4 separate regions of the Homo sapiens genome follow, and regions 2, 3 and 4 are each linked to region 1. Evidence: promoter capture Hi-C in 16 types of primary human blood cells and fetal thymus (Javierre and others, 2016). All regions are on one chromosome and are shown on one strand. Each heading gives the region's core, a stretch centred on a gene start or on the middle of the fragment in contact. The rest is flanking DNA. Distances are from core to core; before and after follow the strand shown. Region 1 holds the start of ATP8A2 (ATPase phospholipid transporting 8A2). Region 2 has its middle 67 kb from the start of CPAP. Region 3 has its middle 16 kb from the start of PABPC3. Region 4 holds the start of PABPC3 (poly(A) binding protein cytoplasmic 3).

Evidence for each region. Contacts are between HindIII fragments. The CHiCAGO score rates a contact against its expected background, and 5 or more counts as called.
Region 2: a contact is called between a fragment that was not itself captured here and the fragment with the promoter of ATP8A2 in region 1, in 1 of 17 cell types (neutrophils). The highest score is 6.4, in neutrophils.
Region 3: a fragment that was not itself captured here is called in contact with the fragment with the promoter of ATP8A2 in region 1 in 1 of 17 cell types (M2 macrophages); the score reaches 5.5 in M2 macrophages.
Region 4: a contact is called between the fragment with the promoter of PABPC3 here and the fragment with the promoter of ATP8A2 in region 1, in 11 of 17 cell types (M2 macrophages, M0 macrophages, naive B cells and 8 more). The highest score is 26.4, in M2 macrophages.

Annotation. Positions count from the first base shown.
Region 1 is chr13:25,370,553-25,373,415 of GRCh38, reverse strand. It overlaps ATP8A2 (ATPase phospholipid transporting 8A2), which reads right to left and starts at 1,442. Exons shown (of 37, transcript NM_016529.6): 1 at 1,128-1,442. The coding sequence starts at 1,203. The HindIII fragment of the contact is 3,193 bases long and covers 81-2,863 here.
Region 2 is chr13:24,988,560-24,991,422 of GRCh38, reverse strand. It overlaps the pseudogene RPL34P27. Among named protein-coding and RNA genes, the nearest start is that of CPAP, 67 kb to the right of the region's middle. The HindIII fragment of the contact is 9,045 bases long and covers 1-2,863 here.
Region 3 is chr13:25,078,618-25,081,480 of GRCh38, reverse strand. No RefSeq gene overlaps it. Among named protein-coding and RNA genes, the nearest start is that of PABPC3, 16 kb to the left of the region's middle. The HindIII fragment of the contact is 8,909 bases long and covers 1-2,863 here.
Region 4 is chr13:25,094,774-25,097,636 of GRCh38, reverse strand. It overlaps PABPC3 (poly(A) binding protein cytoplasmic 3), which reads right to left and starts at 1,501. Exons shown (of 1, transcript NM_030979.3): 1 at 1-1,501. The coding sequence starts at 1,438. It overlaps LOC124900613 (a long non-coding RNA gene), which reads right to left and starts at 2,017. Exons shown (of 3, transcript XR_941762.3): 1 at 1,978-2,017. RefSeq lists a silencer at 1,292-1,586. The HindIII fragment of the contact is 7,788 bases long and covers 731-2,863 here.

The DNA of each region.
Region 1 (2,863 bases), core at 193-2,692:
GATTCTCCTCAAAATGAATGTGAAAGTGTCCTGACTTTACCCAAGTTTAACAAACATTGGCTTAAATTACCTGATAAGCTTGCTTCCCTCTCACGTTACTCAACTACAGAAATACAAAAGTCGCTTATTTTTATGTGCCTATTTTCTCAAAACAAATAAAAAAGCACGAAGACAAGTGACCCCAGCTCCAAACTGTACACCCTCTACCTTCCTCATGTCAAAGATCTACCTGCAAACTTGCCGCAGTCCTGAAACGGTAAGAAATCATTTTTGGGGCTCCTCTTTACGTCTGCATTAACTAATGGTCTAGGTAACCCTATCAAGTGTCATAGCCACATAACATCCAGCTCCACGACATCATAGTTTCTAAATGTGTTCTATAATCATAGAACGCGGGCCTCTAACAGTGTGAGTGGTCGGGTATGGTACATGCGTGTTTGGCTTTAGGTTTCGAGTTCCAACACCCAGGCGCCTGCAGGCAGGGTATGTGTACGCGTGCGTGTGTACGTGTGTGTGTACCTGTGTGTGTGTGTGCGCGCGCGTGTGCGTGTGTGTGTTCGTCTCCAGATGGTTGTATGCACGGATGGTTATGAGCCAGTACGTCGCCGCTGTGAGCGCGCGAGGACCCGGGGCTCCAAGTGGTGAGAATCACTCGAGGGACCCTTCGGATGCCTTTTTCCCCCTCTGCTTTTGAGCTCTGCAGCACAGCGGTGCCGGCCGCCGGCAGGGAAGGCTGCATCTTCTCTGCGCCGCCAAACCGTGCCCACCATCGCGGTGACTGCCGCCTAGGTCGCATCCCTGAGCCGCATCCGCGCGTAGGGGCGCACGGGCACGCGCACAGGGAGGCCGCACACACACACACACATCTGTACAGGGACGAGCCGGGGGTCTCTGACGCCCGCCGCTCACCTCGCCCCGGCCTGGAGCCTTTTGGCCCCGCAGGTGCAGCGACGCCCAGCCCCCGTGCGGCCAGCGCGCCGCGTCGGCGGATCCTGCAGCCCAGAGAGCCCAGGGAGCCCAGGGAGGGGAGCGGGGCGCGGGCGGGGCAGTGTCGCATAACCGCAGGCGCGCCCCGCGCCGCCCCCGCCCCGGGCCCACCCTCCCTCGCCGCGCCCCTCCCAGCTCACCCACGGACGAGCGGATCCTCGACCTCCGCGGCAGGGACATCTTAAGAGCTTTGTCCAGGCCTGCGCCGTTCAGCATCTCGCCCGTGTCGGGGGCTCGGCGGCCCCGGGCGAGAGACGGAGGCTACGCGCAGGGCTGGGCGCAGGGGCCGCCGCCCGAGGACCATGGGTGGGCCAGCGCCTCGCCGGGCTGCTAGCTGGCGGGGACCGCCGGCGCCTGTGCCGGGCCGCGCCCGAGGCTGCGCCGTCCGTGCCGCAGCGGCCAATGCGGCAGCATCCGCGAACGCCACCGCGGCGGGCCCCGCTGGCCCGGGCTGCGGCGTGGGGGCGGGGGACCGGCCCTGAGCGGAGCCCCGCGGGAGGAGGAGCGGACGGGAGGCTGGGAGGGATCCGCAATATTACGCAGGACCGGGGCTTTTAGGTGTCGGGGAAGGCGATGGGGAGGGCTTGGTGGGGTGGGAGATTGGGCCTGTACTTTCGGGGGCTCTTCCAGGAGAGGGGTGCACCTGGGGGACTCGGAGTCTCTGCCTGTCTGCTACCTATTTACCTGCCTGTCACTTGTCCTGTGCAAGTGGAGGCGCTGTGATTCCCCAGGACTCATCCAGTCCCTTTCTTTTCGCAGTTTCTGTTCTTCCGTGCCCAGCCTGGTGGGATCTGTGTAGGGACTTCGTGGAAGGGTTATTTCCAAGGTGTCTGATGTGTGGCTTGGCACTCAGAGAAGTCGGGGGTCTCCAGCCCCCCACTCTCCACAACCTGCCTGACATTCTAACTACGCATATTAAAGCTGCAGGTAGCCCTAGGGAACCTTAACAGCAACCTTCTCAACCCCCGCACGCACACACACACACACACACACCCATCGACACACACACACACACACACAGACCCATCGACACACACACACACACACCCATCGACACACACACACACACACCTTCTTTCATAAAACAAAACCATCGAGAGGTAAGATGACTTGTCCAAGGTCACTTGATCTATTTTTTGTTTTTTCTTATCGCGTAATGTTTAGACTGTGCTTGGTCTTTCTGGGCACAATCCCATGAAGATAAGAAGCTATCTTTATTGTGCCTGATGACATTCTGACCTCGGAGTAAAAACGGAACAAAACAAAAATAAAACTGTTCAGGTGAAAGTCTGACCTTGCTTTTACTGATGCGAGCATTACATTTCTTTTAACCTAAATTAACATTAGGGACTGACAAGGAGTAGTACAGAGTTCAGCAAAAAGAATCTGTGCTAGCAAAGACAGCAGTGCGGCCTGAGCTCCTCCTGCCTGGCCTCTGCATCTGATTTTATTTTCTTTTACTTTTTTTTTTTCTTTGACAGAGTTTTGCTCTTGTTGCCCAGGCTGGAGTGCAATGGCGCTATCTCGGCCCACTGCAACCTCCGTCGCCCGGGTTCAAGTGATTCTTGTGTCTCAGCCTCCCGAGTAGCTGGGATTACAGGCGCCCACCACCACGCCCAGCTAATTTTTGTATTTTTAGTAGAGACGGGGTTTCACTAAGTTGGCCAAGCTGGTCTCGAACTCCTGACCTCAGGCGATCCACCTGCCTCGGCCTCCCAAAGTGCTGGGATTACAAGCGTGAGCCACCACCCCCGGCCTCTGCTTCTAATTTTCTTAAGAACAAACATCCAGGCCGCGCGTGGTGGCTCACGCCTGTAATCCCAGCACTTTGGGAGGCAAAGGCGGTCAGATCATGAGGTCAGGAGATGGAGACCAT
Region 2 (2,863 bases), core at 364-2,863, 380 kb after region 1:
AAGGGAAAGTAAAAAACTGTACTCACGTTTTGGAGACTGTTCATATATTTAAAATAAGATAGGCTGGGCGTGGTGGCTCATGCCTGTAATCCCAGCACTTTGGGAGGCTGAGGCAGGCGGATCACTTGAGGTCAGGAGTTTGAGACCAGCATGACCAACATGGTGAAACCCCGTCTCTACTAAAAATACAAAAATTAGCCGGGCCTGGTGGCACACGCCTGTAATCCCAGCTACTGCGGAGGCTGAGACATGAGAATCACTTGAATCCAGGAGGCGGAGGTTGTAGATTGCACCACTGCACTCCAGCCCAGGCAACAGAGTGAGACTCTATCTCAAAACAAAACAAAACAAAAGGAAATAGAAAATTAAAGCAACAATGAGATCCTATTATATATCTATTAAGATGGCTAAAATCCACTGTCTCCACTATGAACACCAACAGGAACAGCAACAGGAACTCTCATTTCTGGTGGGTATGCAATATGGAACAAGCACTTTCAAAGACAGTCTGGTGGCTTCTTATACAACTGAATATATTCATACCATACAATCCACCAATTATGGTACTTGGTATTTACCCAAAGAATTGGAAACTTATGTCCATACAAAAGTCCATCTGCACACAGATGTTTGGAGCAGCTTCATTCATAATTGCCAAAACTTGGAAGGTGAATAAACTGCGGTATATTCAGATGATGGAATATTAATCAGCACTAAAAGGAAATAAGCTATAATGCCATGAAAAGGAGGCATTGAATAACATTAAATATGTATTATTAAGGGAAAGAAATCAAGAACAAGATCATGTCCTTTGCAGGAACATGGATGGAGCTGGAGGCCATTATCCTAAGCTAACTAACACCGTAACAGAAAACCAGATACCAGATATTCTCACTTGTAAGTGGGAGCTAAATGATGAGAACACATGGATACATAGAGGGGAATAACGCACACTGGGGCCTATCAGAGAGTGGAGGGTAGGAGGAGGGAGAGGATCAGGAAAAATAATGAATGGGCACTAGGCTTAATATACCTGGATGATGAAATAATCTGTACAACAAACCCCCATGATACAAGTTTACCTATGTGACAAACCTGCATTTGTACCCAGGAACTTAAAATAAACATTAAAAAAAGAGGCAATTAGGATACAGACATGTAGAGAGGGAAGTCTGCAAGCCAAGGAGAGAGGCTGCAGGAGAATCCAAACCTGTCACTTTGATCCTGGACTTCCGGGCTCCAGGACTACGCAGCAATAACCTTCTGCTGTTTATGCCCTCAGTGTGTGTAACTTCCTTATAGTAACCCCAGCAAACGCATACATCATCCAGACTAGGTAGGCCATTTTTCTAAAATATTATTAAACTATGTCAAATATTTAAACACTGTTTTGTAAAATACAAGCTGAAGCGTTTGAACAACGTTTCCTCATTTGCACATTTATGCGCCAGTGAATTGCTGGTTGACATATTCACAGGTTTAAGCATATGGCATCTGGTTCATTTCATATATGGTTGGTTTCATCACACTGAATTCTGTTGTCACTTACATTAAGTCCCCAAAAGACCTTTTCATGAAATGTTAAGGAGAGATCATGAAATAATGAAATCAGATAAATAAACAATTGAATCTGGTGAATCCAACCAGAATTAAAAGTTGTCGTATTAGGGTCGAGTTGTACTATTTTGAGTGATAGTAACATATTATAGAATGAGACATAAACAAGATGCATTCCTAATTATATGTGTCTGTGCGCGTGTGTGTGTGTGTGTGTTGATGTACAAAATCTGGACAAAAAAAAAGTTTTCTTAAAGAACTATTTGAAGGCAAATAGTTCTTCAGTTAAATAGTTCTTCAAATAGTTAAGAAACTATTTAATAAATAGTTCTTCTTTAAATAGTTCTTCAAACAGTTAAGAAACTATTTTAAGTTTCTTAAAGAACTATCGGAAAGTGGATAAGAACAGGCAGAAACTGGAAGAGTGTCCATCTGTAAGGGATGAGCGTTTTCAGGTTTTCCGCTGCGGCTGATGTGGAAAGTAGTCTCTCTCACTGCCTTGAGGGCTCAGCGGATGGAGGCGGGATTCCTAAATGGCTGGAAAATGAGCGGGGGGAAAACGCCAGGTTGAAAGGAGCAAGGGTGGGGCGCGGTGGCTCACGCCTGTAATCCCAGCACTTTGCCAGGCCGAGGCCAGGGATCGTGAGGTCAGGAGATCGAGACCATCCTGGCTAACACGGCTAACACGGTGAAAACCCGTCTGTTCTAAAAATACAAAAATAAAATTAGCCGGGCGTGGTGGCCGGCGCCTGTAGTCCCAGCTACTCAGAAGCTGAGACGGGAGAATGGCGTGAACCCGGGAGGCGGAGGTTGCAGCGAGCCGAGACTGCGCCACTGCACTCCAGCCTGGGCGACAGAGAGAGACTCCATCCCCCGCCAAAAAAAAAAAAAAAAACGAGCAAGGGAGCGCTTCCGGGAACGTTGTCTGCAGGCACTCAGAATGGTCCAGCGTTTGACCTACTATCGTAGGCTTTCCTACAATACAGCCTCTAACAAAACTAGGCTGCTCCGAACCCCTGATAACGGAGTTGTGTACTTTTATACCAAGAAGGTTGGGAAAGCACCAAAATCTGCATGTAGCGTGTGCCCAGGCAGACTTTGAGGGGTTCGTGCTGTAAGACCTAAAGTTCTTAGGAGATTGTCCAAAACAAAGAAACATGTCCGCAGGGCCTGTAGTGGTTCCATGCGTACTAAATGTGTTCGTGACGGGATCAAGCGTGCTTTCCTTATCGAGGAGCAGAAAATCGTTGTGAAAGTGTTGAAGGCACAAGCACAGAGACAGAAAGCTAAATTAAAAAAACGAAAC
Region 3 (2,863 bases), core at 241-2,740, 290 kb after region 1:
AAAAAAAAAAAAAAAAAGGAAAAGAAAAAGAGTATAGTACAATAAGTTTGGCAAATACATACAAATATGCAAGGTCCTACCAACATCAAAATTCCTCTGTGCTCCCCTATAGCCAATCTTTTCTCTCCAACTCAGGCCTAAGACAACTGATCTTTTTTTCACGATAATTTGCCTTTTCCAGAATTTTGTGTAAATGGAATAATATGTTGTCTTCCGTGTCTGGCTTCTTTCACTTTGTGTGATATTTTAGTTTCATCCATGTTGCAGGTATCAACAGTTCATTCCGTCTTTTTGCTGAGCAGTATTCCGTTGTCCGGATACACAACAACTGGTTCATCTTTTCACTAGTTTATAAATATTTGGGTTATTTCCAGCTTGGAGCCATGAAGAATAATGTTGCTATGAACTTTGGCCCCCAATGTCTTTGCGTGGAAATAGATATATATGTATGTATGTATTCTTGGTTATATAACTAGGAGTGGAATTGCTGAGTCACATGTGGTGTGTGTTTCATGTGATAAGAAACTTGCAACTTCTTTTTCAAAATGGATATGGAAAACAGTGTAACTAACCACTGGCAATTATGAGTGTTCCAATTATTCTACCTTCATGTAGATAACAATCAATGCTTGGTGTTGTCAGGCTTTTCAAATTTCTGCCATCCCAGTGTCTCTCCTTGTATACTGGTCTCTCCTTGTTGTTTTAATTTGCATTTCTTTGGTTTGTTTGACAGTGATGTTGAGCATCTTTTAAATGACTTATTGGCTATTTACATATATTCTTTTGTGAAGTGTCTGTTTAAATCTTTTGTCCATTTTTTGATTGAATTGTTTGTCTTCTTATTAGTAAGTTTTTTTTATATGCAGGACACAAGGCCTTTGTTGGATACGTGTTTTACAAATTTTTTTTTTCCAATTTTGTTTTCTGAAGAGGGTCCTTTGAAGAACAAATATTTTTCATTTTAATGAAATTTAATTTGCTAATATTTTTCTTTTGTCTAACCTAATATCACAAGTCAATCCTTCTATTTTTCTCCTGCTTGAAGTTTTAAGATTTTAGCTCTTAAATGTAGGTCTATGATCCATTTTGAGTTAATTTTGGTATACAATAAAAGAAAAGGGTCCGGACCCTTTCCCCCAACAATATGGAAACTATTCTAGTGCTGTTTATTGAAAACATCATCCTTTCATCACTTAATTAGTTTGGCACTTTGATAAAGATCAGTTGACTATACATATGTCAGTCTACTTCTGGACTGGACTCTGTCCCACCGGTTGGTGTGCCTTTCCTTATCCCCATACCACACTCTCTTGGTTACTGCAGTGTTATAGTCAGTCTTCATATCAGGTAGTTTAAGTCCTTTGACTTTTCTCTTCTTTTATTTATTTATTTATTTATTTTTATTTTTTTTTTTTTTGAGACGGAGTCTCGCTGTGTCACCCAGGTTGGAGTGCAGTGGTGCGAACTCAGCTCACTGCAATCTCCACCTTCCTGGTTCAAGCGATTCTCCCACCTCAGCCTCCCAAGTAGCTGGGACTACAGGTGTGCGCTACTACACCCAGCTATTTTTTTTGTATTATTAGTAGAGACGGGGGTTCACCATATTGGCCAGGCTGGTCTCGAACTCCTGACCTCATGATCCGCCCGCTTCAGCCTCCCAAAGTGCTGGGATTATAGGAGTGAGCCACTGTGCCTGGCCGACTTTTCTCTTCTTTTTAAAATTGTTCAGCTACTTTAGATCCATCTCATCTTTATATCAATTTTATAATACACTTGTCAATTTCTAAAAGAAAATGCTTGCTGTAATTCCGATTAAAATTACATTGAATCTATTGATACAGTAACAATATTGAGTCTTCCAATTCATGAACATTACCTATCTGTCCATTTATTTAGGCTTTTTAAAATTTATTTTAACAGCATTATTTATCAGGGTATAGATCTTCCACACCTTTTGCTAAATTTATTCATAATTTTTTATGTTATTGTGAACATATTTGTATTTTAAATGTCCTTTTTAATTGCTTGCTGTTTATATATAGAAATAAAAGTGATGATTGCATATTGATCTTTTATCCTGTGATCTTGCTTTGATCACTTATTAGTTTCAGTAGACTTTGTATATTCCCTTAGGATTGTTTTATATATGTACTTATATTGACTGCAAATAAAGACAGTTTTATTTCTTCTTTTACAAACTCTATGCCTTTTTTTTTGTCTTATTGAACTATCTTTATAAGAGTGAATATCTTTGTCTTGTTTCTGTTCTAAGGTTGAAAGCACTTGGTTTTTCACAATTTAGTACGATGTTAGCTCTGAGTTTTTTATAGATGTCTTTTTTCAGGTTGCAGAAATTTCATTCTATTCTGAACTTGCTCAAAGTTTTATCATGAATAGGTGTTGAAGTTTGTCACATAGTTTATTCTGCATCTGTCGAGACGATCACGTTTTTTCTCCTCTATTCTATTCATATGGTGAATTACGTTAATTGGTTTTCATACATTAAAGCAATATTGCATTTCTTACATACACACCATTTGATCATGATACATGATTCTTTTATTATATTACTAGATTTCCTAATATTTTCTTAAACATTTTTGCATGTATGTCCATGAGGTATATCGGTCTATGGTTTTCTTGTTATGTCTTTGTCAGGTATTAAATGAGGGTAATGCAGGCCTAATAATATGAATAGAGCAGTATTCCAACTCCTTTTTCCTGACATAGTTTGGGAGAGATTTTAACTTAATGTTAAAACTTAAATGTTTGGGCCAGGCGTGGTGGCTTACGCCTGTAATCCCGGCACTTTGGGAGGCTGAGGCGGGCGGATCACGAGGTCAGGAGTTTGAGACCAGTCTGG
Region 4 (2,863 bases), core at 252-2,751, 280 kb after region 1:
ATGTGTTAGCAACACGCTGCGTTGACATGACTCGTGGAACCTGTGAAGAAGCTGGTCTCATAGTACTAAATGGTACTCTAGGAGCACCTGGGCGGATAGCACTGGGCTTATTTTGGAATGGATGAGGTCTGGCACCCTGAGCAGTCCAGCGAGGACTTGGTCTTAGTCGAGCAATTTGGCTAGGAGGATAGTATGCAGCATGGTTCTGAGTCTGTGGGACAGCTGTCATGAAGTAACCTGAAGGAGGTGCTCGCTGGTTGGGCACAGCTCGTACACTTGCCATTCTCTGCATATACTCGTTAGTGAGGTAAGCCTGGCGCTCTTCTTTGCGCTGAGCTAAAGCTACATACAATGGCTTTGTGGCCACAATTCTACCGTTCATTTCTGTAACTGCTTTAGTGGCTTCTTCTGGGGAGGAGAAACATACAAAACCAAACCCTTTGCTGCGACCACCTTCCATCATAACCTTTGCACTAGTGATTGTACCAAATGGAGAAAACGCTTTCCGGAGACGTTCATCATCAATACCATCATCAAGATTTTTCACATAAAGATTAACAACCTGGTATCTGGTGATCCTATCTTGCTTCATCTGTTCAAATGTGCGCTTAAGTTCCGTCTGCCGTTCCACTTTTTTCTGAGCTCGACCAACGTAAATTTGTTTTCCATTGAGCTCCTTTCCATTCATCTCATCTACAGCTTTCTGTGCATCTTCATGCCTTTCAAAGCTTACAAATCCAAATCCTTTGGATTTTCCACTTTCATCGGTCATTACTTTCACACTTAAGGCGGGCCCGAACTTGCCAAAGAGATCCTTAAGGCGCTCATCATCCATGTCTTCTCCAAAATTCTTGATGTAAACATTGGGGAACTCTTTTGCCCTAGCTCCAAGTTCAGCTTCTCGTTCTTTACGAGACTTAAATTGTCCAACAAATACTTTGCGACCATTTAGGAGCATTCCGTTCATTTTTTTAATAGCTCTTTCAGCTGCTTCGTGTGTCTCAAAGTGTACAAATCCATAACCCTTGGAACCATTTTCATCACAAACCACGTTACACGAAAGGATGTTACCAAAAGCAGAAACTGTATCATACAGTGCTTTATTATTAATGGACTTATCCAGATTTTTAACGAATATGTTGCCCACTCCACTTTTTCGAAGTGATGGATCACGCTGAGACCACATGATGCGTACTGGCTTGCCCTTTATAACATCAAAATTCATGGTGTCCAGAGCATGCTCCGCGTCCTTCGTATGCTGGAAGTTCACATACGCGTAGTTGGAGGAGCCGCTGGTGATCAAGTCCCTGCAGATCCGGATGGAGAGGATGGGCCCTGCCGGGCTGAACTTCTCGTAGAGCATCGCCTCAGTCACGTCGGGGTGGAGGTCCCCCACGTAGAGCGAGGCCGTTGGGTAGCTGGGGGTGCTGGGGTTCATTCTCGGCACGGCTGCCCGCAGGCACACAAGCCGCGACCTTTCCGTTACAGGAGTAGAGCGCGTGCCGGGGCCGGGGGCGTAGCCGGAGGGAGGGGAGCGGGGGCAAGCGCAGAGGGACAAAAATCAGCCGAAATCGAAAACTACTCAACGGCCGCAGAACGGGGTCGATCCGCTGCCGCTGGCTGCCGGCTGCCGGCGGGGAGCCAGGGTAGCGGTGTCGGGTCCGGGCAGCAGGAAGGCCTTGGTCTCTTAGTTCCTTCTTGGAGCTGCTGCGGGGCCGCTGGCGGGCGGCTCGGGCTCAGCTGCTTCACCGGGTTATTTTGTAAAAGAGCATTAATGATTTTTCTAAAATGATTTTTATAATCCAAATTTAAAATGCCTGGGAAAAAAATAAATGAAAGAATTTTTTTCTCCTTTCTCCTTTAGTATGTTTTTATATATGTTCTACTTTACACAAATATATTTTTATAAAATATTTTCTACTTTTTACCTCGTCTCTACTAAAATTACAAAAAATTAGCTGGGCTTGATGTGCTCACCTGTAATCCCAGCTACTCGGGAGGCCTAGGCACGAGAATCGCTTGAACCCGGGAGGTGGAGGTTGCAGTGAGCAGAGATCGCGCCACTGCCCTCTAGTCTGGGTGACAGAGCGAGACTATCTCAAACAAACAAACAAACAAACAAAAAACCCCGAAAAACCGACTTTTTATATTATATAACAATATAAAACATAATAAATATGTAATTTTATTTTTCATTTATTTATTTTTATTTTACTTATTTATTTTTGAGACGGAGTTTTGCTCTGTCACCCAGGCTGGAGTGCAGTGGTGCGATCTCGGCTCACTGCAACCTCCACCTCCCAGGTTCAAGCGATTCTCCTGCCTCAGCTTCTAAAGTAGCTGGGATTACAGGCACCCACCACCAAGCCTGGCTAATTTTTTGTATTTTTAGTAGAGACGGGGTTTCACCATCTTGGCCAGGCTGATCTTGAACTCCTGACCTCGTGATCCACCCACCTCGGCCTCCCAAAGTGCTGGGATTACAGGCGTAAGCCACCGTGCCCGACCAATAAATATGTAATGTTAATATAGTATTATATGATATAGTCTTTTGAGGTCAGGTTGGGATTCATTATTAAGTATACGTTTTATGATTATAAGTACACAATCTTGTGACCTAATATAGCTACACATCTAAGTAAGTGATGATCTGAAATAATTCTATTTAAGAAAATCCTTTAAGAAAGGTCCAGTCCCACAAAAAATATCAGTTTGGGGGAGGATCTGTTCATTCTGTTCATGTTACAAATAATTTATTTTAGGGTTTTTTGTTTGTTTGTTTGTTTAGATAGAGTCTCGTTCTGTCACCCAGGCTGTAGTGCAGTGGTGCGATCTTGGTTCACCGCAACCTCCACCTCCCGGG